2 separate regions of the Homo sapiens genome follow, and region 2 is linked to region 1. The links are contacts of gene promoters, found by promoter capture Hi-C in blood cells and fetal thymus (Javierre and others, 2016). All regions are on one chromosome and are shown on one strand. The core of a region is centred on a gene start or on the middle of the fragment in contact, and the rest is flanking DNA. Distances in the headings are between cores, read along the strand shown.

The links. The method cuts DNA at HindIII sites, captures the fragments that hold promoters and counts their contacts. A CHiCAGO score of 5 or more calls a contact.
Region 2: a contact is called between a fragment that was not itself captured here and the fragment with the promoter of ELOVL4 in region 1, in 1 of 17 cell types (neutrophils). The highest score is 5.8, in neutrophils.

Annotation. Positions count from the first base shown.
Region 1 is chr6:79,943,840-79,950,219 of GRCh38, forward strand. It overlaps ELOVL4 (ELOVL fatty acid elongase 4), which reads right to left and starts at 3,714. Exons shown (of 6, transcript NM_022726.4): 1 at 3,341-3,714. The coding sequence starts at 3,440. LOC124901350 reads right to left here and starts at 5,794. Exons shown (of 2, transcript XM_047419628.1): 1 at 5,729-5,794; 2 at 3,548-4,172. The coding sequence starts at 3,976. The coding sequence ends at 3,548. It overlaps LOC124901351 (a long non-coding RNA gene), which reads left to right and starts at 3,966. Exons shown (of 3, transcript XR_007059656.1): 1 at 3,966-4,088. RefSeq lists a silencer at 3,774-3,823. The HindIII fragment of the contact is 8,446 bases long and covers 1,527-6,380 here.
Region 2 is chr6:82,163,028-82,169,541 of GRCh38, forward strand. No RefSeq gene overlaps it. Among named protein-coding and RNA genes, the nearest start is that of LINC02542, 65 kb to the left of the region's middle. The HindIII fragment of the contact is 1,874 bases long and covers 3,680-5,553 here.

The DNA.
Region 1 (6,380 bases), core at 2,464-4,963:
TGACCCCTCCAAAGTTAATTCAAGGACCCAGCAAGTTATGTTCTAACTGCAACTACCAAGTAGACAATTTTTTTCACCAAAATGCAGGGTACTATATCTGCGAAAAGAGGGCCAATGCCAATCATTACCACCCCCAACCAACAGACAGCACCCATACCCTGTGAACAACAGCTATTTAGAAACAAATGGTCAGAAGATACATGGCCTCACAGGAGACACCTGGCTTTACCGTAAGCATCCTACTAACTCTCTAGGGTGTTTATATGCTAAATGTCAGGTATGCAAAAAAGCTATTAAACATTTATTAAAAGCATGAATAAATGAATAATGTAGATAAGTTGGGTATTCATAGATTGGGGAATATTTAGATTCATCAGTTTAAAAAATGTATATACAACTTTTATTAGATGTATACGTTGAGCCTAGGACTCCAATCCTAATAATTTAAATGTACTCATGAAGTGAAAGAATAGAAGAAAAAAACTAACATGATGACATGGAATACCTACTCTAATACTAACAACTAGTATAAAGTCCTACACCAGCCTATACTTTAACATAAACCAACGCTAATTTCCTCGTTCAAAATGTCTACAAATACAGAGAAATAAAAATTATTTTTGTTGTTTTTCTAAAAGTATAGCTCTTTCAAACTTTCAATTCCAATGTACAAAGTGTTAATACTGTAGTAAAAGTAACATTTTTGTTGTTAACATTATTATGGACCATATTTTGTATTTGCTACATATGTGCCTCTGAAAAGCCCAGTTTTCAGACATTGCTTTGGATATGTTTGGATATTTAAAGCACCATTTGATATAATAGCACAAAATGGCATTTAATGAATTAATAAAAGAATGAAAGAAGCATGTAACTACAGCACTAGGAATGAGAGCAGCCAAGGACAAGGAGCCTACCTCATTTCTTGCTCTCCCTCAATAATTTGCATCCTTTCACCACACTCATCACTATTTCTCAAGACCATCTTTCTATCCCGCCCATTTCTGTTTCCCCTTCTTTCCAAACATTTGACTCACCAACTTTTGTTTAACCTCATCTTATAAGCTACTTTTCTATTTTGATATCCCCCACCCAGATTTTCATCAAATTATGCTGAGAGGTGGAATCAGAGCAGAGTGAATGAGTCCAAAAAAAAAAAAAAAAAAAAAAAAGGAACACGAGGGGCATAGAATGAGGGAGAGTAAACGTAAATGGGACACCACAGACTTCAGGTCTATTCGGCCTGGACCTGAAAAATACTCCTCCTCACACAGCAGTACAGCAGAACAGACTATATCCACTAAGCCTCTCTGTTGGTTAAGAAATACCATCTGCCTACATAAGGTAGCTCATTACAGAAAGCAAGGAAGCAGTCTCAGGTTTCGTAAGTGGATAGTCAAAGCATAGGCAAATACCTTCCTTCGGCCTGCTAGTGAGAGGTCACTTGTGTTCTAAGGCTACTCTCACTTCTCAGGCTTGGCCCACAATATTATATTATTTTATATGCCCTTCGAAGCCTAGTAGCAAGCTTTCACATGCGGCAACTGCACAAAATTTCCTGTTTCATTTGTGTGTGTGTGGTTTCTTTTACACAAACATCATCAGGAAGGAATTCACCATCACAGAAAGGTGTATTCTACCTTTGCCCTCAATTTTTCCTTCTGAGACTCAAGAGATGGGAAAGCTCCGGGATAGGATAGGAATGACAGGACCGAGAACTCCTGGGTGTGGCTCTGGCTATATGGAGACTGGAGTATCTCAACAGTGTCTGACTCCTAGGTGTGCGAAGTGCAATTACCTGCTAAAGAACTTGTCTGATGTTCAGCTCTATACAATTGTGTAATGGGAAGCCCTGATGCAACGTTTAAAGAACCGAAATCACAGACGTGAAGGGAAGGGCACATCTTTCCCAGTTTTTGCAGGTACAGTGTAACATCAGTGTAATAGCGCATAGAAACAAAAAAAAAAACTGAAGAAACACTCCATTGAAAACTGCCTTTTAACCATTTTCAGCTGTAATGGCTTATTAAATAGCTTATTTCCCAGTGTCAAAGTTGAGATCTTCTGAAAAAGAACATACTTTTCTAAAGAAGTGAATGCAGTATTAATGCCAAATAATCATTTTGTCTCTCACAAAAATAATTCCAGCATACGTTTTTCCCAAAACATAAGCCCTATGTATCGGACTACATTCATGCTGTAACCACTGTCTAATTTCCTCTAACAACAATGAACACAAAAACTACAGGAGTACATTTTCATTTCGAAGTAGGGAAGGCAGAGTCATAAGATGGAACGTTAATATCCTTCACTGATAGGATGCAGTGTGATACTGCAAAAGGACCAGAAAAATTGACCTCGTAAAATCATTTCTGAAATCCTTTAAACCTTATTTTAGATTTCAAAGACTTTTAAATGCTTTAAAATCAAAAGCAGCGAAGCAAATGAAGAAATAAACAGTACAATGTAAAAATATAATATCACAGTTGGACGCTAGGAAAGCTGCATAAATCAAACAATTGACAGCCCTGCCAAATTAACTGCAACAGCTAAAGAAAAGTTTGCTGATTTAAGAACTGTATATATGTAGGCATCTGGGACAACCTCTAGGTGTTGCTGTAGAGACCCCCTTCCTAAAGACTGATTTCTTCCCCGGTGTTTTGGCCTCCCCCTCCCCCTGACTGCACTGCAGTGCGCAAAGCCATTATAGACAATCACTTCAAACATATTTGCTGTTGAAAATGCCTCGGAAACTAACATTCTTCAAGGTTCAAGGAGCCAAACAATATTATTTTACTTTTCAGTCCGAATTATACTATAGATGAAGGAGCTAGATAGAAGAAAAGATTAGCAGGGTTCTGTCAAAGCGACCAGGAGGCTGAAGAAACCTCCTGTACCTTCAGCTGCCCCTGAAGCCCTCCTTCCTCCCCAGCCCGCTCTCCATACAAAATAGGACTAAATGTTAAAAGGAATCCTGTGCACGGGGAAGAGGGAGGCGAGCTCGGGAGATGTGGGAGCACAGGGTGGGGCGGCTCCTGCGAGGAGCTCCTGGCTGCACAGGCTCCATCTGATATGTCAGCTCCCGCATCCGAGAGCTGATGAGAGATGGAGGGAGCTCAGAAGAAAACCCTGCGAGTGTCGGGGGAGGGGAGGCCTTAACATTCGGATCAGATTAACCAGTGCTCAACCGCAGTGCCCGCGCCGGCCCCTCCGCTGATCCGCAGCATCCGAAAGCCGCAGGGCGCGGGGGCCTGTGGGGCCGGGCCCGGGAGCTGCGAGACCAGGGGCCGGTGACCCCCCGCGGGGGACCGAGCGAGGATGGGGAAGTCAGCGGCTTTACCTGCGATGGACCAGGTCCAGCGGTAGAACTCTACCGTGTCGTTGAGTGCCGTGGACACTACGTTTAGGACACTACCCGGCTCCGAGTCCAGGAGCCCCATCGCGGCGATGAGCGGGCGCTGGCGGCAGGAGAAAGCGGAGACCCAGAGAGAGGGCTGACCCCGGAGGCGGTGGCGGCCGACGGGGCGAGCGGCGGCCGGGAACCCCTCTAACGGCGGCGGCCCGGCTGCGTCTTCTCCTGCTCCTCAAGGCGCCGCGGCGGCGGGGATGCGGCAGAAGGCAGGGCCAAGCGGAAGGCGTCGTCAAGGTTCCCGGGAGAAAGACGAGGAGGTGGAGGAGGCCCAGCCGCCAGCACAGTGCGCTGCACCAGTCTGCAGCCTCGCGCAGCCGCCCCTCCAATCTCCTCAGCCGGCGTCACGTGGCCGCGCGCGGGGGCGGGGGGCCGGCCGCCCCTCCTCCCTCCCTCCCTCCCTAGTATTGGGACTCGCTGGCGTAGGGATGCTGCGCTCAAGGGTGCGACGCCAACTGGGCTCGCGCAGGCGCGCGCCGTCGAGCGGGAGCGGGACACCTGGGCTCCTCCTTGGCCCCTCCCCGCACAAGTCGCCTCATTAGCCTTCCCCGCCCCTGTCCCGGGCATCGGCCCCTGCGGAGGAGTTCACCGCCTCCCCACGGGTGATTTCTTATCCGCCCCGGATACGTCCTGGGAAACAGGACACGGGAAGAATGGGTGTTCTGTGGGCAAAGATGAGGTAGGCGTGGTGCTTTGGTCCTTACCTGACACTCACCTCGATTTCACTTGTGTTCCTGTTTCTTTGACCTCCACCAGCACATGCCTGTCACCATGACAAGAGAAGTGCATGTGTTATGCCTCTGAAGAAGTGAAGGGTATTTGTCTTCCATGCTTCAGCGATGGAGAATAGACTTTGGGGTCGACCCATGAACAAATCAACATATAATTGCATGAATGCTTGCATGTGTTTTGTAGACTCTTTTACTATACATGGAATGAACAAAGCAATATAATTGTGCTAAATTAGGCCATTAGTAGTTCAGAGAAGAGGGAGAACCGAGAGGGGCTTACAGGTGAAGTCCGCTTGAACCTGAAGAAGTTGAGGTGAATCTGAAAAAGATAATCGCTCAAGAGGCAAAGGGCAATTTAGTGTAGAGAGGAAAACAAAGTAATTGTGGCTATTTTGAAAAATTGTTTAGATAAGGTATAGGAGAGCCTACCCTTGAAAAGTAAAAAAAATACAGTACTTGGAATTCATAATTTGATGGTTTCTCACATAAAACAAGATTTTTGAGAATAGTCCTTTCATCTACTTGTTTTTTAAATGTGTCACCTACTTGTTTAACCTTTTCTCCACTTGCTCATTTTGGATGCTACATTTTAAAGACCAGTGAGTCAAGTGTCTTATTGTTCCTGCCCTTTCACACTGTTAATGTGAATACTATCTTTTATCATACTGAAATGATCTATTTCCCAATTGACCTGGTTATATATTGTCTATATTTTATATTGGAAGCATCCTAGATGGTAAGAATTATTTTTGGTTGCTTGATGAGTACCTAACCCAGTGCTATAAACAGTAATTAATAAATATTTATGATGACAAAAATATAACATGTCTTTCAGAGAATAATAAGGATTATTGTGAGTGGCAGGAACTTTATTGCCGAACTAAAGCAAACACAGACTTCTTTAAATGCCCTATTCTTGAAATTAACCAAATAAAATGTTAATTTATTAATTTGTCAAATATATTTGCAAATCTAAAGTTTTCTGGATTGGAATGACAATTTCTCAAGTCTCAATCCTAAATTATGTGTAACAGATTCTAGTAGCTATATAAAAAAAAGAAATCCAGTCAAGTCTCTTCATTTAGGGAGTGGATAAATACCCATTCATTTACAGTGATGATCTAACAAAGTTCGGATTAGTTCGAGCTTCACCTAAAAATTTGATTACTATTTCTATATTGTGGAATCCTGGAGTTTTTAGGGAGAACAGATCTCTACCCATACTTCCATTCACACACGCAAAACTGCAGCATAATACTTAATACAAGGAGAAATTGTTAAAACAGCTTCAGGTATTTCCCTGGTATTTCTTCTACCGTGGAGGTCAACTTAAGTCCCTATTCACTAGGGGGTGCCAGTCACGTATAAGAAAATCATAGATGAGATAACCTTCAGCTGGGAATGGCGGTCACACGGATATCACCGTGTCCACACTCCACCTGTAAGAGTAGAATGTTTATTTACATTTATAAGCTGTCTAAACATATACCAAGAACCAGAACATAAAACTTACCCAATCTGGAACCCTATTACCTGGCATGAATAAGTGGTTTGTAAATACCAGTGACTGCCCAGAACCAAAGCCTACCTTGTTTAGTTGTGCAAAGGGAGGGAAACCCGCATGTCTGCCACCTAGAATAACAGCCATCTAACCAAAATCTTGGTAGCATCATAACAGAGTAAAAGCAAATACAAGCAACAACAGCATCTGCAAACTTTGAGAACAGAGTTCTTTCATGTGGATCAAATGCAAATAGGATACAGTTACCTACAAAACCTAAAGGAGAGGACATTTTATCATAAATTTTTTTGTATAAAATAGCAATATTTTTTTCTTTTTAGAAACAGGGTCTCACTCTATCAGCTAGGCTGGATTGCAGTGGTGTAATCATAGGTTAGTGCAACATCGAATTCCTGGGCTCGAGCTATCCTCCTGCCTCATCCTCCTGCCTCAGCCTCCTAAATAGCTGATAGAGAAGGAGGACTGGCTGTGTTGCCCCGGCTGGTCTCAAATTCCTGCCTGCAAGCAATCCTCCTGCCTTGGCCTTCAAAACCACTGGGATTACAGGAGTGAGCCACCACACCCAGTACAAAATATTTTTAAATGTCCTACAGTCCATACAAGGTTAGCAACATAAATCAAGCTATCCATCTTTTTTTTCCTAGTCCACCTTTCCATGTTGGTAATATTGTCAGCAACCTCTGCTTTCAAAGAAAAGTGAACCTGGAAGCCTGTTGAG
Region 2 (6,514 bases), core at 3,367-5,866, 2.2 Mb after region 1:
TCTCAAATTTTAAAATATTAAAAACATAAAGTTAACATTTATATGAGTAAGAATTATGTCTGGTTCTCTTTTCTATAAAGCCATCTATCTACTTACATTTTAGAGCTTATACTTTAAATTTTTTTAATTATAAAAGTGATATATATGCAGAGCTTGAAAAAGTCAAACCTTGTTTTAAAAGATTTAAACCAGCTGGGCGCGGTATTATTATAACTTCTGTGAAGAAAACAAAAGTTTTTCCAGCTACGTGGTCTGTTAGAAAATAAAAATTAAACGGCTCAGACTAAGAAGATGTGGAAGAAATTATAGGACCAGACTCATTTTCAGATACTCAAAACAAACGATCAGTTGCCAAGTAATCAAGTACCTTTTTTACATTCTCTTACCTCACCCATTCTTTATACATTTAATTATGTGTGTATGTGCTTTTTAGATCCCATACCTATATAATTATCTTTAATTTTTAGTTTAATTTGCATAGGAAATGAAGAACTGGATACATTAAATTTTTTTTTGTTTTGAATATGAATTTATACTGCTGTGTTAACAAAGACTGCAGTCGTGACTGGGTGTGGTGGCTCATGCCTGTAATCCCAGCACTTTGGGAGGCCGAGGCGGGCAAATCACGAGGTCAGAAGATCGAGACCATCCTGGCTAACACGGTGAAACCTCGTCTCTACTAAAAAATTCAAAAAATTAGCTTGGCATGGTGGCGGGCGCCTGTAGTCCCAGCTACTTGGGAGGCTGAGGCAGGAGAATGGCATGAACCCGGGAGACAGAGCTTGCAGTGAGCCGATATAGCACCACTGCACTCCAGCCTGGGCAAAAGAGAGAAACTCCATCTCAAAAAAAAAAAAAAAGAAAAGAAAAAAGATTTAAACCAAAACAGTTGTCCCCTGACTTCAGCCCAGAGCCAATCAACTTGCACTCTTTTAATGGTTTCTTCTTTCTGTTTTGTTTTCTGCTACCTCTAGATAATTTAATATGTTGCTTTTTGTTTTTAACTCTTTGGATAAAATATTTAGCCAACTTTTGACAGCTCTGTAAAGCTTCTCTCAACACTTTTCCATCGTTAAACCTGTCAGATAACCCAATTGTCACTTTTCGAGTCACCTTCCTGGGGCCTGCCATTCTCCCCAGTTCACCAGAATGGTTTGCTCTCTGGGTCTGATAAACTTTCCCTTCACCATTAATCTGAGATTTCTACTTGTCTCTCCTTCTCTTCATTGTTGATTACCTATTTCCTCGATATCAGGTCTTCCTCTCAATCTATTTCTTCGTTTAGTGGAGTACATTCTCCAGCAGCCTCTAAGAAAGGGTATATGGTAGGTTTATTAGAGACTTTGTTTATTTGAAAATACCTTTATGCTATCTTTATACTGAATAGAGAGCTCTGTGGCCGGGAGCAGTGTCTGACGCCTGTAATCCTCAAACTTCGGGAGGCTGAGGTGCGTGGAGTTCGAGACCAGCCTGGCCAACATGGCGAAACCCTGTCTTTACTAAAAATATACAAAAAATTAGCCGGGTGTGGTGGTGGGCACCTGTAATTCCAGCTACTCGGGAGGCTGAGGCAAGAGAATTGCTTGAACCCAGGAGGCAGAGGTTGCAGTAAGCCGAGGTCGCGCCACTACACTCCATCCAGCCTGAAGACAGAGTGAGGCTCTGTCTCAAAAAAAGAAAGAAAGAAATCCTACTGCACATTAAATTGTGCCTCAAAGTCTCTACTAAAAAGGAGAAAGGTATATTATCTCCAAATCTTTCTTTCACCTTTTCATATGAAGGTGAAGGGATTGGAAATTCCCTTAATTTTTTCAGTCTTTTAAAAGGGTATTATGGATATGTGCTATTTCAAATGCCTTTTGTTTTAAAAGGAGTATATTTATCAGATTTTATCTTTTAGGGGCTGCAAATACATCCTAAGTTGAGCACCACAGCTAAAGTACATTGTAAGTATTTTGAAAAATACTTGCAGTATAAATTCATAATCAAAACAAAATTTTTAATGTATCCAGTTATTCATTTCCTATGCAAATTAAACTAAAAATTAAAGATAATTATACAGGTATGGGATCTAAAAAGCACATACACACATAATTAAATGTATAAAGAATGGATGAGGTGAAAGAATGTAAAAAAGGTACTTGATTACTTGGCAACTGATCGTTTGTTTTGAGTATCTGAAAATGAGTCTGGCCCTATAATTTCTTCCACATCTTCTTAGTCTGAGCCATTTAATTTTTATTTTCTAACAGACCATGTAGCTGGAAAAACTTTTGTTTTCTTCACAGAAGTTATAAATAATTAAAATTAGTGAACTCTAGGGCACCCAAAGACATCTCAAAATCTTTTTAAGCTGTACTAAATATTTGAGATTTTAATAGTAAGCAACTTACAAACATCTCCCTCTCATTATCAATTAATGAAAAGCCTCCCATTCCTAATAAACAAAATTTAAGGCTTTTAAGTTTGTATAGCAAATGTTTTCCACTCTCTTCCAGTTACCAACCCTTGCTATGCAATAGAAAATATTTCTAGACTATCGAGCCTGTGCATATCTTCCCTTCTCTTTCGCCTCAAAATACCTACTTTAGCACGTATCCGAATCACCTGGAGGGCTTGTTAAAACAGATTGCCGGGCACCCCTTCCTGTTTCCAATTCAGTAGAGGCAAAGCCCATGAATTTGTATTATCACATGTTCCCAGTGATGTTGATGTTGCTACTCTAGGAATCAATAAAATTATCCTCAATTTCTTTCCCTCAGTTTAAGAAAATTAAGTAGCACTTCTTTCCTTTCCAACAAGTTTAAATTTGTACTCTTGGTTTTATCTTCCTTCTCATTCTACCGTTATTTCTGTATTTCCAGCATCTCAGTCTCTTTCTATATGCATTGACTCCTCTCTGCCTTCTAGATGCACAGACCTCCTTTTTCAAAAATATATATAAAACAAATACACCGTCTATTTAAAAGTTACCATCTATGTCTCTCATAAATCTGTTCACTGCCAAATTTCTAGGTAAAATATCCTTGAACCAAAACCTCTACATTCGGCCAGGCGCGGTGGCTCACCCTGTAATCCCAGCGCTTTGGGAGGCTGAGGCAGGCGGATCACTTGAGGCCAGGAGTTCGAGACCAGCCTGGTCAACATGGTGAAACCCCGTCTCTACTGAAAAAAAAAAAAAAATACAAAAAATTAACCACGCGTGCTGGCACATGCTTGTAATCCCAGCTACTTGGGAGGCTGAGGCAGGAGAATCCTTGAACCCAGGAGGCAAAGGTTGCAGTGAGCTGAGATCGCACCACTGCACTCCAGCCTGGGCGACAAGAGCGAAACTCCGTCTCAAAAAACAAACAAAATCTCTACATTCTATTACTTCTCTCCATTACTTAGATCATCTTTCAGAGTCCAAGCAGGAAACAGACAGCACTTTCAACTTGGGAGAATTATTATTAAATTATTTATAAAAGTCTGGGTAGGATGTAGGAAAACCACAATGGATACTGCAGTTAGTTGGGCTAGATACAATGCAAGATCCTTTGCCATTCTTAGGCCTGAGGGTGTGGGAAAGCAACATCCCCAGAAGCTGGAGAGATTGTCATACGGAGAGAGCTGCCCGACAGGAGCTGTGACCTTCCCGATTGTGGCTCATAACAACATCATGAGAGAGGGCAGAAAAAAAAGCTTCATTCTCTTTCTCCTGCCAACACGCCAATATTCTGCTGGTGCTCCAAATGGTTATCAAGCCTGTGCATATCTTTCTCTTACGGCTCAAAATACCTACTTTAGTACACATCAGAATCACTTGGAGGGTGATAACTGGATGTCAGAGGGAAAATAAGCTGGTTGGTAAAGTCCTAGAGATTAATTTCACAAGATATAGTAGAGAACAAAGGATGGATCTGCAAATAAGCAATATCCCTTACCATATGGTCCATCTCTTTTGTTCCTCAGATTCTTATCCTTTATTTAGGTAGACACATTTATGTCCTCAACACAGGAAACATACAATCATACAAAGTCCTACAAGCTACTATTTCATAAGATTGATGTCAATTTAGTCATATTCTTCTCCTGTACACATGGAACATTCTCCAAGACAGCACATATACTAGACTATAAAAGATATTTCAACAAACTTAAAAGGACTGAAACAATACAAAATAAGTTCTCCAAATTTAACAAAATTAAATTAGCAATCAATAACAAACACATATTTGGTAAGAATTCCCAAATACTTGAAAATTAAACAATATACTTTTAAGTAATCCATAGTTCAAAGAAGAAATCAAGATGAAATTTAAAAATATTTTGAACTGAATGAAAATAAAAACATGACATATACAAATTTATGAGATGCAGCTAAAGCAGTGCTTAGAGGGAAATCTATAGGTCTACATGCCTGTATTTGAGAAAAAGAGAACTCTCTAAGCCTGAATGTATAGAAAAGAACAGCAAATTAAAGCTAAAGGAAGCAGAAAATAATAATAAAGAGAACAGAACCAAAGAAAAAGAAAAGAGAGCAGAGAAAAATCAATGAACCCCAAGCTGGTTCTTTGACTTCAATAACTTCTTTGACAACTTCAATGTTGACTGATATGGTTAAAGAAAAAAAAGAGAGAGAGAGAAAATAAAGATTACCAAAATTACAAAAGTAGGGAGGAACTTGACCACCAAACCTTATGAAATTAAAAGGACTGTAAGGCACTACTATGAACAAACTAGACAACTAAGATGAACCAGATAAATTCCTAGAAAGAACAAATTATTGAAACTGAATAAAGAACATATAGAAAATCTCAACAGGCCTGTAATATGTAAAGAAATAGAAAAAATAATAATAATTTAAAATCTTCCCACAAAGAAAATCCCACACCTGGATGATTCCACTAGTTAATTCTATCAAATATTTAAATAAGAAATAATACCAATCATTTATGAACACTTCCATAAAAGTGAATCCTTCCCAATTCACTCTATAAGGCTGCTATTACAGTGATACCAGAGTAAAAGATAGGAAAAAAAAAGGAAAAGAAAAAGAAAACCACAGACCGATATCTCTCATGAATACAGATGCAAAAGTCTTCATTGAAATGTTAGCAAATCAAATCCAGGACCTCTTTCTGAAGTGCTGTCATGGTCCACTTCTTGACTTACTGGTAAATTACTTAGCTAAATATTTTTGTCTTGTGCACTTACCTCTTTATGTTATGGTTCAAGATTTTAAAAGATTTAAACATACACATATACAAGAAAGAAAAGAATGCCTAGTCTATGTTCTCAAAGTACAAGTAATTTAGTAAAAGACTAGATTAATAGAAAAACAAAAGTAATGGCAGAATATGACAAGTACCCTGAAAGGTATAGGGTTACAAGGAAATGAGAACATAGCTGATCCATGTATGCTACTGTTTTTATGTTACTTTATGTTTGAGGGTGTATGGAGGGAAACCAGAAAAACTATAAAGGAAAGAGAATTTTGATTGCCTTAATTATGGATAGGTAGAATTTTATCTGAAGAAAAAGAAAAATTTAGGTAGAGATCAGCATGAGCAAAGCTTGAACCATATTTGGGAGAAACATCAGGTCAAGTTTGGCTCCACCACTATATGTACAATTTTTTTTTGAGATGGGGTCTCACTCTGTCACCCAGGCTGGAGCACAGTGGCATGATGTTGGTTCACTGCAACCTCCGCCTCCCTGACTCAGGTGATCCTCCTACCTCAGCCTCCTAAGTAGCTGGGATTACAGGCGCCCACTACCACATTTGGCTAATTTTTGTATTTTTAGTAAAGACGGGGTTTCACCATGTTGGTCAGCCTGGTCTTGAACTCCTGGCCTCAAGTGATCCACCAGCATCGCCCTCCCAGAGTACTGGAATTATAGCATGAGCACCACGCCCGGCCAGCTTTCTTCAATTTATAAAATGAAGAGAATATACATTAAAATTAATCAATAAGGCTTCAGATCTAAAATTTTATGAAAGAGCTATTTACACCTTATCATGAACAAATATATACACCCTGGCCTCCAAAACAGTTAAAGGGAATCAACCCAGACATAACTAGCAATGCTTTCTCAAATGACTGGATATTGCTCCTATATAAAGCTAGGTTTTCTTAAATTTATTTTAAAAACCATCTCTTTAGGACTTGAAGAAGAGTCCTGAATCCCAATATTTTGTCAACAAATTTGACTTTACCTGATTAGCAGTCTTCTTGATTTTGCAAGTTTTAAGCATATTCTGCCTCTGACATACCCTTATCCCAATGTCCTACCCAACCATCGCTTTTTCAGGCTGAAGAGTTCTGCCAGGAGGCAAAGGTTGCAGTCAGCCAAGATCCTGCCACTGCACTCCAGTCTGAGTGATGGAGTGAGATTGTGCCTCAATTAAAAAAAAAAAAAAAGAGTTCTGTAATTGTTTTCATAAATCTTAAAGATCTCTCTATCCCACTGATATTTTAAATTTGTCATTTCCAGTATTTATTCAATTCTATCAGGTCTTTTTGAGGTTATG